3 separate regions of the Homo sapiens genome follow, and all the other regions are linked to region 3. The links are contacts of gene promoters, found by promoter capture Hi-C in blood cells and fetal thymus (Javierre and others, 2016). All regions are on one chromosome and are shown on one strand. The core of a region is centred on a gene start or on the middle of the fragment in contact, and the rest is flanking DNA. Distances in the headings are between cores, read along the strand shown.

The links. Contacts are between HindIII fragments. The CHiCAGO score rates a contact against its expected background, and 5 or more counts as called.
Region 1: a contact is called between the fragment with the promoter of ATP5MG here and a fragment that was not itself captured in region 3, in 1 of 17 cell types (neutrophils). The highest score is 5.3, in neutrophils.
Region 2: a contact is called between the fragment with the promoter of FXYD6 here and a fragment that was not itself captured in region 3, in 3 of 17 cell types (naive CD4 T cells, activated CD4 T cells and naive CD8 T cells). The highest score is 5.8, in naive CD4 T cells.

The regions. Positions count from the first base shown.
Region 1 is chr11:118,399,959-118,403,749 of GRCh38, forward strand. It overlaps ATP5MG (ATP synthase membrane subunit g), which reads left to right and starts at 1,648. Exons shown (of 3, transcript NM_006476.5): 1 at 1,648-1,759. The coding sequence starts at 1,708. All of the region lies in intron 3 of LOC100131626 (a long non-coding RNA gene), which reads right to left. RefSeq lists enhancers at 1,309-1,388, 1,509-2,372, 2,831-3,421. The HindIII fragment of the contact is 3,431 bases long and covers 1-2,380 here.
Region 2 is chr11:117,874,656-117,878,593 of GRCh38, forward strand. It overlaps FXYD6 (FXYD domain containing ion transport regulator 6), which reads right to left and starts at 2,003. Exons shown (of 8, transcript NM_022003.4): 1 at 1,937-2,003. FXYD6-FXYD2 (FXYD6-FXYD2 readthrough) reads right to left here and starts at 2,003. Exons shown (of 10, transcript NM_001243598.4): 1 at 1,937-2,003. The HindIII fragment of the contact is 14,206 bases long and covers 1-3,938 here.
Region 3 is chr11:118,136,978-118,140,478 of GRCh38, forward strand. It overlaps SCN4B (sodium voltage-gated channel beta subunit 4), which reads right to left. Exons shown (of 5, transcript NM_174934.4): 5 at 1-143. The coding sequence ends at 50. Among named protein-coding and RNA genes, the nearest start is that of SCN4B, 14 kb to the right of the region's middle. The HindIII fragment of the contact is 1,055 bases long and covers 724-1,778 here.

The sequences.
Region 1 (3,791 bases), core at 398-2,897, 260 kb after region 3:
GAGGCTGAAGTGGGATGATCTCTTGAGGCCAGGAGTTTCAGGCCAGCCTGGGCAATGTGGCAAGACCCCATCTCTAAATAAATAAATGACTGCCTCTTCTCTGTCTTCAATTTCTCCCCTGAGTTCCACATCCCCCTTTGGTTTTCTGACTTGTAATCCTTTACAGCCATATTTCTTCACCATTCACCCTGGATTCTATCCTAATTTTTTGAAAAGGCGCTAGTTAGTTAAAGATTGCCATATTGCTAAATTAACTTTCCCATCCTTAATTTGACTTTTCTGCAGTATCTAGGGCAGCAGAATCACTCCTTCATTGAAAAGTTCTTAGTTCCTTGATTACACTTCTAATTTTTCTTTCCATCTCTCTAACCATTCCAAAAATCGGAGATTTACTTCTGCTCAGACTTCCCCAGGTTACATTACTTATAGTTCTGTTCCTCTCATCAAATGCCACTTCCCTACATACATCTTTTCCTCCTCATATTAAACTATGAAGTTTCAGCCCTCTGTAGTATACAGCTGTTCTCTTACACATCGGCTCAAGGATCTTTTCTAGGAAGTATGCTGAAATCAGCACCATGCCTAATCTGATGGAATGCCCCCTCTCTGAGTATACATTGCAACTTCAGATCTCAACTCTGCCACTTCCAAACTGTGTGGCCATTTTTCAAGCCCAGTCTCAATGGGGACAATGCCTTACAGGCTTTCTTTAAATTCCAAAATGCCTGGCATAGTGTGGGCGTTCAATACAGGTGATTTTTTCCTCACATCTGCACAGCTCCTTGTGGTTAACTAGGGAATTAGGGGAAATGGATTCCAATCGTGATACAGCACTTTGGGGAGATTGGGATTACAAAAAATCAACTTTAAAAGGGCTATGGGGCCAGGCGCGGTGATTCACGCCTGTAATCCCAGCACCAAGGCGGGTGGATCACTTGAAGCTAGGAGTTCGAGACCAGCCTGGCCAACATGGTGAAACACCGTCTCTACTAAAAGTACAAAAATTAGCCAGGCGTGGTGGCGGGCGCCTGTAGTCCCATCTACTAGGGAGACTGAGGCACAACAATCGCTGGAACCCGGGGGACAGAGGTTGCAGTGAGCCGAAGTCGTGCCACTGCACTTCAGCCTGGGCGACAGAGCGAGACTGTCTCAAATAAAAAGGGCTATGGGTTGAGCCTGGTGACAGCCTGTGTGGTGATTGCTCGGCCCCTAACTTTATATGTTTGGCCTTGGACCCTCTCTACCTCTGTACAACGATCGTGTTGGACTAGAAGAATCTCAGCGAATCCTTCTCCAGTACTGACTTCAAAGGTTCTCAGAATCGCGGCGAAAGCACCCTACGCAAAATAGCGGAGGTCGGCGCCAAGAAAAGCACTGCAGGTTCAGGGCGCATGCGCATTTCCGCTCCTTGCCGGTTTTCCGGACCTCTACGAGTGGCTGCCCCACAAAATGCCTGCTTCTCTGCGGAATCCTACTGTTCTTCACATGCTCTCTAATACCATCTTTTCATATCCACTTTCTCTTCCATGTTGAAAAATTAAATTGACAGGCTGGATTCTGCAAAGATCTTTGGACATTTAAGTATCTTCGACCGGCGCGAAAAGAGGCGGCCTGACCTTGGAAGTGGGACGGGGTCCTGCAGCGGGTCCTTCCGGCGGGTGACATTCAGCCGGCGGTTCGGGGCGACGGACTCTCCATTCCAGAACCATGGCCCAATTTGTCCGTAACCTTGTGGAGAAGACCCCGGCGCTGGTGAACGGTGAGCGCGATGTGAGACCGCCGAGGCGGGCACACGGGCGGCAGGGAGGCCTGCGATGGCCTGAGAGGAAGAAGCGGGCTGCGAAGACCCGAGGGGCCTGCGGGTGCCGGGGCGGGATGGCCTGCAGGTGGAGGGAGCAGGAAGCAGGTTGGCGACTCTTTTCTAGCCTTCCACTCGTCTGACCTGCAGATTGGGTTCTCTACACAACCTAGAAGTTCCTGAATTCTAACCACGACTGGGAAGAGAGGTAGTGTGAAGGAAGCCCGGCGTTGCCCGGCAGCTGCAACCATTACGCCCCCTGAGATCGCTAAGAGCAGGGATCTAGAGGGGATGGTTCTGTTAGGAGAGCTAAGAAAAGGAAGGGCAGAAACGTGAAAGTAAATCAATTCGGCCTCATTACATGTGGTGTTGTTCTCAGTGGAGTATTTGGAAGTCAACAGAAATGTTTAAGGATGGGTGAGCTTTTTTGAACGTTGACTTTGCTTTCTGTCCTAGACGGATTCTAAGATACTTCCGCTTTAATCCGAGGGAAATTTTAGGTGGAAATGGACTTCATGGATGAGTATCCATGCCCCGAGAAGCATAGGACGGGATCCGTATAAACAATAATCTTTGTTACGAAGCTTAGCATTCGTGGAATTTTTTCAGCTTGAAGAGCCTCACTGGTAGACCGCTGTATTTCACAACAACCCTGAATAATCACAGCCTCTGAGTACTAGTTTATTTGGCCAGTAAATATTTCAGTTGTCTTCTCAGTGGCAAGCTATTCATTTTATTCCTGAAGTGAGATAAGCTAAATTGACGTAAGTTTTTCCTAGATGTGCTGTATTCCAGTAAGTGACTGAAGGTCGGATCTCTTAACTTTTGCCTACGTTTATGAAATGTGAATAGAAAGCAGAACTTCAAAAAAAATGTAATACTTTCTAGCCTATTTTGCTGTGTTTGAGTTTGGTTTGGGTATTTTCTTTTTCTTTCTTTCTTTTTTTTTTTTTTTTTTCCTAGAAGACAGGGACTCACTCTGTCGCCCAGGCTGGAGTGCAGTGCAGATCACAGCTCACTGCAGCCTCCACCTCCTAGGCTCAAGCGATCCTCCCACCTCAGCCTCCTGAGTAGCTGGGATCACAGGCACGCACCACCACACCCAGCTAATTTTTGTATGTTTTAAGAGACGGGATTTCACCATGTTGCCCAGGCTAGTCTCTTAACTCCTGGGCTCAAGGGATCCTCCCGCCTCGGTCTCCTAAAGTGCCAGAGTTACAGGTGTGAGCCACAGCGCCAGCCGGGTAATTTATCCATTCTCTCCTCCCTTCCCTCCATCACCAGCCAAACTATGAGTTATTGAAGGCTGTCCTGCAGAACCTCACAGCCTACTAGTGAAACATTTTACACATTTTCCCAAATAATTTCATAAGCTTGCAAGAAAATCTTTTACTTTACTAAGATTGTTAAGATACCTGTCATAGAGCTCTACAATTTTATATAAATCAAAAGAGATGGCCCTGCGGCGGTAGCTTACGCCTGTAATCTCAGCACTTTGGGAGGCCAAGGCGGGCAGATCACTTGAGGGCAGGAGTTCGAGACCAGCCTGGCCAACATAGTGAAACCCCATCTCTACAAAAAATACAAAAATTAGGCAGGCTTGGTGGTGCATGTCTGTAATCGCAGCTACTTGGGAGGCTGAGGCAGGAGAATCGCTTGAACCCCGGAGGCGGAGGTTGCAGTGAGTCAGGATTGCACCACTGCATTCCAGCCTGGGCGACGAAGCGAGGCTAGGTCTCAAAAAAAAAAAATAATAATGCTGGACACTGTGGCTCACGCCTGTAATCCCAGCACTTTGGGAGGCCAAGGCAGGTGGATTACCTGAGGTCAGGAGTTAGACACCAGCCTCACTAATATGGTGAAACCTCGTCTCTACTAAAACAGAAATTAGCCGGGCATGGTGGCAGGCGCCTATAATCCCAGCTACTCGGGAAGCTGAGGCAGGAAAATCTCTTTAACCCAGGAGGCGGAGGTTGCAGTGAGCCAAGATTGC
Region 2 (3,938 bases), core at 753-3,252, 260 kb before region 3:
CCCAGAGCTGGCCTGATCCTCTGCTGGTGAGGATGACTCCCAGAGCCTCAGGCTTTCTCTGGGTCAGGGAAAAGAGCAGCGGCAGTGGAGAGATTGAAATTCTGGTCAGTGCCCAGCTTCTGGAGCCCAGCACCTGGGAATGGCTCTCGTTAACACCTGGAGCTCCGGACTGGGGCTTTGAGGAGGAGGGAAAAGGGCTGCGCCCACTCTTTATCCAACCTTCCCTTCCAGGTTTAGGGAAGGGGCTCCTCTTTTGAGGGAATCTGGCAGTGCCTTTCCCTCCACCTTCCTCTGCAGGGTTCCCAGGGAGATGTTAGGGTTTTCCTTCTGGGCTTCCTGAGCCTCCATCTCTTCCCCTCCACACCCCTAGGGAGGTGGCTGGATAAGGAAGGAAACTGCCCTCTCTCTCCCCTGCCTCAGCCCAGCCTGAGACTTATTTAGATGTACTGTGTGTGTGTGTGTGCATGCACAGTGCGCATGTAGGGTGTCAGTGTAGCATTGTAGCTGGTGTGTGGTGGTGCGGTATATATGCGGTGTGTTTGGTGTGTATGTGTGTATAGGTATGATGTATATGTATGTGTGGTGTGAGTGTGAGGGTGTGTTGATTGCGTAGTGTGGTATATGTCTGTATGTGTTTGTGGTGTTGGTGATGTGCAGTGTGTGTGAAGTGGGTGGTGTGAGTAAGGGGCCACTGCAATTGGGTGTAGGAGCCAGATATCTAGGTCTCCTAGCCAGGGATAACCAGTATCTAGGCAACCATACTGGGGGGAGGGGAGGAGATATGGAGGTGAGGAATGGGCAGGAGAAAGAGGGAGGCTGAGAAATGGAGGAGTTTCCATGGCAACGACCAGGCAAGTCACGTGCAAAAGGCTAAGTTGCGGACGTAGACATACACATCCATAATATGAGGGTGGCTGGATCCCCAAAGGGGGCTCCTTTCAGAGAGGGCCTGAGATGCCCACTGATCCATCTTCAAAGCTGGAAATCTTAGCCCAGCCAGACAGCACGAAGCCACAGAGACAAAGGAAGTAGTGGCAGAGAGCACACTGGTGGGGAGAAGCCTCCAGTAGCCACGGTCCCGCGAGCGTGCAGGCTTGCAGCAGGTGACGCGGCAGACCCATGTTTCCAGCGAGGCTGCTCCCAGCTCCCACCCTCGGGTGCCTCCTCTACCAGCCACCACTTGTAAGAGCCAGAAGCCAGCGCTGGGAGCTCCAGGCTGCACACCCAACTCTCCACGGAAGCCCGGGAGACACAATAGGGGAGGCTCTGCCAGGGCCAGCCCTGCTGGGGAAAGGGGGCAATGGCGGACCCCAGGGCCCCCCGGAAAGGAAACAGGATTGGATGGATAAGACAAGAAGGAGGGAAAAAATGATGCACTCTCATGAATCCCCGAGCGCTAGAATCCTTCTTTCCCTGCGCCCCCATCCTGTGCCCACTGCCCAGCCCCACCTTCCCCAAGCACCAAACCAGCAAGTTCCATTTTGTGTCGCTCATAAGTCCACACTCACACCCAGCCACACGCCCTCGTCCGTAATTCCCCACGCTCCACCAAGTGTCCACAGCTTCCAAGTAACAAAGGGAAAACTCCTCATGGATAAAGGGTGGGCGCAGCCCTTTCCCCTTCTCCTGAAAACCCTGACCCCAAGCTCAAGGCAGCACCGAGAGCAATTCCCAGCCACCAGCGTCACCCCCAGCGCCACAGCCTGCCTCCCCTAGAGGCTCCTCTCTCTTCCGACGCCGATCTCCTTGTTTACATCCCCAGCCCGGTTTCCCGCTGCCCAGGCGGGGACCGCGGCGCAGCTGACCGCGGAGGACCGCACACACCCACTGAACACACAAAACCCGGCGCTCCCGGCGCTCCAGAGATCGGTCCCCACCGAGCCTCGCCCCTCCTCGGAAAAAGGAGCCAACTTTGCCCACCTCCCCAGCCGCCTACCTGCACAGCCGGTCCCCTCCGAGACTCCCAGGAGGACCCGCCGAGTCCCGAGGAGCCTGGGAGTGGCGGGGCTGGGGGCAGGGCGGTGGGTGAGGCTTGAGCTGCTTTCCCGCCTCCCCTCCTCCTAGGAGTCGGGCTGGCTGGGAGGCGCGTCCTGCGGGGGCGGGGGGGGGGCTCGCTCGGGGCTGGGCTCGGGGACAGCCCACTCCGTGCTGCCGTCCGCTGGCTTCTGGGTAGCGGCCGCGCGCAGACCCCCTCTCCTCCTCTCCCTGTCCGTCCTCCCGCTCTGTGCTCGCGCGCGTCCTCTGCTCCTCTCTCCTCTCGAGGGGCGGAGAGATTTTTCCAAAGGGCAGTCAAGCTCCGAGAAGCAACAGGAGACTGCCGCCGAGGAGGCGTGCAAGCGCCGGAGCGGATTTGCCATCAGCTGTTGCTTTTCGGTTTCCCTCTGGTTAGGGTGGGAAGGGAGCAAGACAGGCACAATGACAGACCTGGTGTCTCTCTGCAATAGTAAACCCCGAGGAACGGAAAAATAGGAGAAAATAACCCAGCACCAGACACAGCAGCCCACGTTAATTGGGAGCCTTGGTAATTAAGGGGAATGTGCACCAAAAGCATGAATGGCTGTGTCGTGGGCGCAGGAGCCAGCTCCAGTTGTAGTTGTCATTTTCAGCTAGAGCCAGGTGGGGAGCTGGGGGGATGGTCCTTACCTGAACCATAGATCTGCTGCCTTGAACCCCCTTTTCAAGCCCCATCCACCTCTGGCCCTGCCAGGAGCAGTACCACCCCGTCCTCAGCCCAGTCCCCAAGAGTCAAAATTCATGATGACGAACTTTGAATGTGAAGATGTAAATAAATCCTGGCTCGGCAACCCTGCCTGTGACGCGACTTGGAGCATATCTCTGCACTCAGCTCCTGAGTCTATTTCCTCACGTGGGAAAATGGTGATTAGAGACTGACCCCATGGGAGGCTTAGCTCATAGTGAGTGCTCAAGAAATTGGCTCTTACTATTAGGGGCAGAGCTTGTAGGAAGGGGCAGAGGCCAGGCACAAGTGTCAGTAGCCAGGAGCCATGCTGAGATGGAGGCTGTCCAGCCTCAGTCAAGGTGTGTGTATGGCCGAGCCGGGTGGAGGGAGGAGCTACTGAGAAAGGCTGTGATTGTCCAAGCCTAGGTAGGGCCACGGAGAGTTCCTTACAAACCCCAAGCCGGGGATGATGGGTACTGCTAGGAAGAAACCTAGCCCTGCCTCTGCTGCCCTCAGTTCTGGGCCTGTTTTCTCATTTGGGAAAATAGGGAGATGGACTAGATGATCCTGAGGTCTCTTCCAGCTCTGCCCTAGATGATCTAATTATTTTAATAAAAGGTCAGGTCTCAAAACCCCAAGGCAGGAAATATACATGAACTCAAGAAGACTTTGGAACCAGTAGGGGAACCATAAATAGCTACTGAGAAAGAGCACCCAAAAAGCCTCCCCTCAGGGGATAGTTCTGGCCCCTTAATCATGGGACCTGGCTGAATGGATGCCACTCTGGCCCAGTCCTGAACTCCCTGGGGTTCCTGTGAATGCTAAAGCTCCTTCTCCAAAGCCAGACTCAAATCTTGCCTATTTGCGTGCCTAACCCTTTGCCGTTCCTGTCTTTTCCTCTATAAACTGAGGACAGCATTCCAACTGTCGTTTTCCCTTTTCATGTATTCTAGGTGGCAGATTTAAAACCACATCCCTTTCTAGGCCCATGTCCTTAGGCAGGTACATTCATCCCTCCAAATGCCCTTGAATCCTGCCTTTTGGCCATCTCTCTGTGCTTTTTAGAGCACCTACTAGTGATGACACGTCAAGCCCAGGCTTTGCAAGCCTATTTGGGAAAGGATAGTTCAGAACTCCAAAGCCAAGCCACCTTCTGGTTCAACCCCATTTCCAGCCAGAGAGTTCTGAAGTGTTTGGCCCAGTGACTTCCCAGGTCCCCCTACCTAATGCTGACCAGCCCAGGCTGCAGAGGGATAAC
Region 3 (3,501 bases), core at 1-2,500:
TCATCATCAGAAAGGGGGCTCCCTGCAGCTGCTCAGCCCGAAGCAGGGCTCACACTTTTGAAGGTGGTTTCTCCTCTGCCTTGGAGCCAGGCAAGCCGTTCTCCGTGTTGTCATTCCCCGAGGAGCTCACGAGACACTCCTTCCTGGAGAGGGAGAGAGAAGGGACAGTGGTGAGGAGAGGAGCAAGAGTAGGGGGAGAATTGTGGCAGGAGCCGTGGGCCCTGCACCCAGCCCTGTGCCTCTCCCTGGCCTTCTACAGAGCTAAGGTAGCCAGAGGCCATGTCACCTAACCTCTCTGTACCTCAGTCCCCTCATTTGTGAAATAGAGGTAGGGATGACCTTCTGCGTGGGGTTGCTGGAAGGAGAAATGAGCACTTAGAACAGTGCCTGCCATGTAGAAAGTTCTCAACTGGCCAGGTGCGGTGGCTCACACCTGTAATCCCAGCACTTTGGGAGGCCGAGGCAGGCAGATCACTTGAGGTCAGGAGTTCGAGACCAGCCTGGCCAACATGGCAAAACCCCATCTCTACTAAAAATACAAAAATTAGCCAGGCGTGGTGGCAGGCGCCTATAGTCCCAGCTACTAGGGAGGCTGAGGCAGGAGAATCGCTTGAACCTGGGAGGCGGAGGTTGCAGTGAGCTGAGATCGTGCCACTGCACTCCAGCCTGGGCAACAGAGCGAGACTCTGTCTCAAACAAAGAAAAAAAGAAAGTTCTCAATAAAGCTTAGCTGTCACCTAGTTGTCTCAACATGGCAGGAAGCAAAGGGCACCAGGTGCTGTTCTCAGGGGTCAGTTCCCAGGCTGTGCCACGCCAGGGGGAGGGGTCCAGGCCAGCAAGGAGTATGCTGAGGACACAGAGTCCCTCTCCCCAGGGCCCCCCAGGCCTTCCTCCCTGAGCTCTCCGTGACTAGAGGTATTAAGGGAAGAACAGAGTCCATGGAAGGGGCAGAGCAGGCAGTGGGTTTGGCTTCAAGGGTGACAGGTCTAGGCAGAGTTTGGTGGGACGGAGCAGAAGACAGGAGGAAGGAGAGATGGTGAGATGGGAAGACACCTCCCGGGAGGCGTTCCACCCTGACCGCTCTGAGCTGGACATGCTCCAACTTCAGTGTGTCCCTCCTCCACAGCAGCGCCCAGGCTGGGCACACAGAACTCCCCAGGGAGCACCTGCATCCCTCTGAGCTTTCTGCTCATGAAAATGGCCAAGTTTTTCACAGCTGCTACAGCCAAACTACATCCTACCCTCACCCTGGGCTTGGGCAGCTGGGTTTGAGGCCTTTGGGAAGGACTGAATATTTTGTCCTCATTAATTTCATCTTGCAATACCTAGTTCCTAGCTCCAGCCTATCAAGATCTTCCTAGATCCCTTTTTCTTCCAACATAGTTACTAGGCTTCTGGAAGTTGATAAATGTGACATCCCTAGTGTACTTCAAATGTTAGTAATAACAATGAACAGGTGGAGCCCTGTGGAATACACTAAAGACCTCTATTCGGATGGATCCATCTCTCTCTCTCTGTCTCTCTCTCTTTCTTTCTTTCTGTCTCTGTACCTAAGGCATAGTTAACCCAGCCAATTACGACCCACCGAACTGTATTCCACGCAGTCCATAATTCTCTACTGAGAACCTACTGGGTACCAGGCACTGTGTCGGAAACGTGCACTCTCCTAGGGCATGTGACATTAAACAAGTGATTGTGACACACTGTGGTAAATAACAGGATGGGGGATGTAGGAAGGAGGGACCCAACCTAGGAAGCCTCCTCATAGGAGTCAGGGAAGCTTTTTGGAAGTATACCTTAAACTTCCAAGCTTCTTTGAAACCAAGAAAGATGAGCAGGAAAAGAGAGAGGGTAAATTCCAGACAGAGGAAACAGCACCCACGTTTCAGAATCAATGGTGAGATGTTGTCCAGTACCTCCCTGTTCTTGAGAAGCCACTGTCTCTGCTGTAATGCAGGCATTCCCCGCCACTCCAAGGACCTCCCTCAGGCTTCCCTACGGTCTGTCCCCTGCCCCCAGGCTCTTCCACCCAATCCCTCCGCCCACCATGGCCAGATCCTTTCTTCTGTGCTCTCTGATCGTGCCAGGGCCCTGCAAGCCCTCGCCAGCTCCCCTGCCGTCGGAAGTCAATCACAGCCTCGACTCCCAGGTCCCCAAGTGTCTGTCCCCAACCCCTTCTGCAGGCTTTTATTCTCCTCCCCACCACCTCACCATACAGCTCTCTCAACAAACAAAAGGCTTGTTCTCCAGACAAGCCCACTTCCCAGACTCTCTGCCTTGGCTCTCAGTGGTGCCTCCATCTGGAAGAATCTTCCCTTTACTCTCCCCAGGGCTTAAGTTATATTAATCTTGCAAGGCCTGCCACAAACACCCATTCAGCCAGAAATCCTTCCCAGAATTTCACCCTGCCCTGAACCCCCACAGCAGCATCGTATCAAACCTCTTTGCTGGCACTGATCCCCTCTACCTTGTATTACATTTATTTGTATACACATTTATTTGTATCTTGTCTTCTTTAGTTAAAGGCAGAATCTCATTCCTTCCATAATTTCCTATAGCATCTGGCACAGTGCCTCAAAAACAGCCACAAAATGAACAGATAAATGAATGAACTCTAGATATGCCCAGTGAGTCAGTAGAACATCCTGGCAATGGTTTAAGCTTTGAAGCCAAATTAGTCACAGTTCAAATCCCAGCTCTATCACTTACTAGCTGTGTGGCCTTGGGCAAGTCACTTCACTACTCTGAGCCTCACTTTGCTCAATTGTAAAATAATAATTATGGGTAGTGTATAAAATTGCCTGGTGGAATTCCTAACATATGGTAGGCATTTGATGAATGACAGGAAGTGGTATTTTCCAGAGCAATCTCCTGTTCTGCCAGTGCCTTATCAGGAGACATCTAGCATTCCTTTTTTTTTTTTCTTTTTTCTTTTTTTTTTTAAGAGACGAGCTCTTGCTAAGTTGCCCAGGCTGGACTCAAACTCCTGGGCTCAAAGCATCCTCCTGCCTCAGCCCCCCAGGGAGCTGGGACTTCAGGCACACACATCCAGCTTAGCATGTCTTGTTTTTGATGAACCCACTGTGGCTCTGAAGGACCACCGTTGTCTTTTCTAAGTGCTTTTAAACCATATATTGACAAATTTGTTCTCCATCCATTGATAGTAAGACTGGTTATGAAAAACAGAACCTAATTAAGCTCCACGCTTTTAGCCCCTCTCACGATCACCAAAACCCTCACAGCCTCTGGCCACAAGGCAGGCAGACAACCCTTGAGCTCTTCATCGACAACCCAGTTCTGGGGTCCTCCCCTGCTCCCCAGCCCCAGCGCTGCTACCTGTATGGCCCCTCCCTACCTCCAACTTCCATCCCCTCTTTCTAGAGTAAGTTCTGCCCTTTACAGCAGAATTCCCTCTTCTCAGCAGAGCAGAATGTTTCAGCAAATAGGGGCAGAGGAGTTCTCCATTCTCTGCATCTCGTGGTTACCATCACCCTCTCTGTT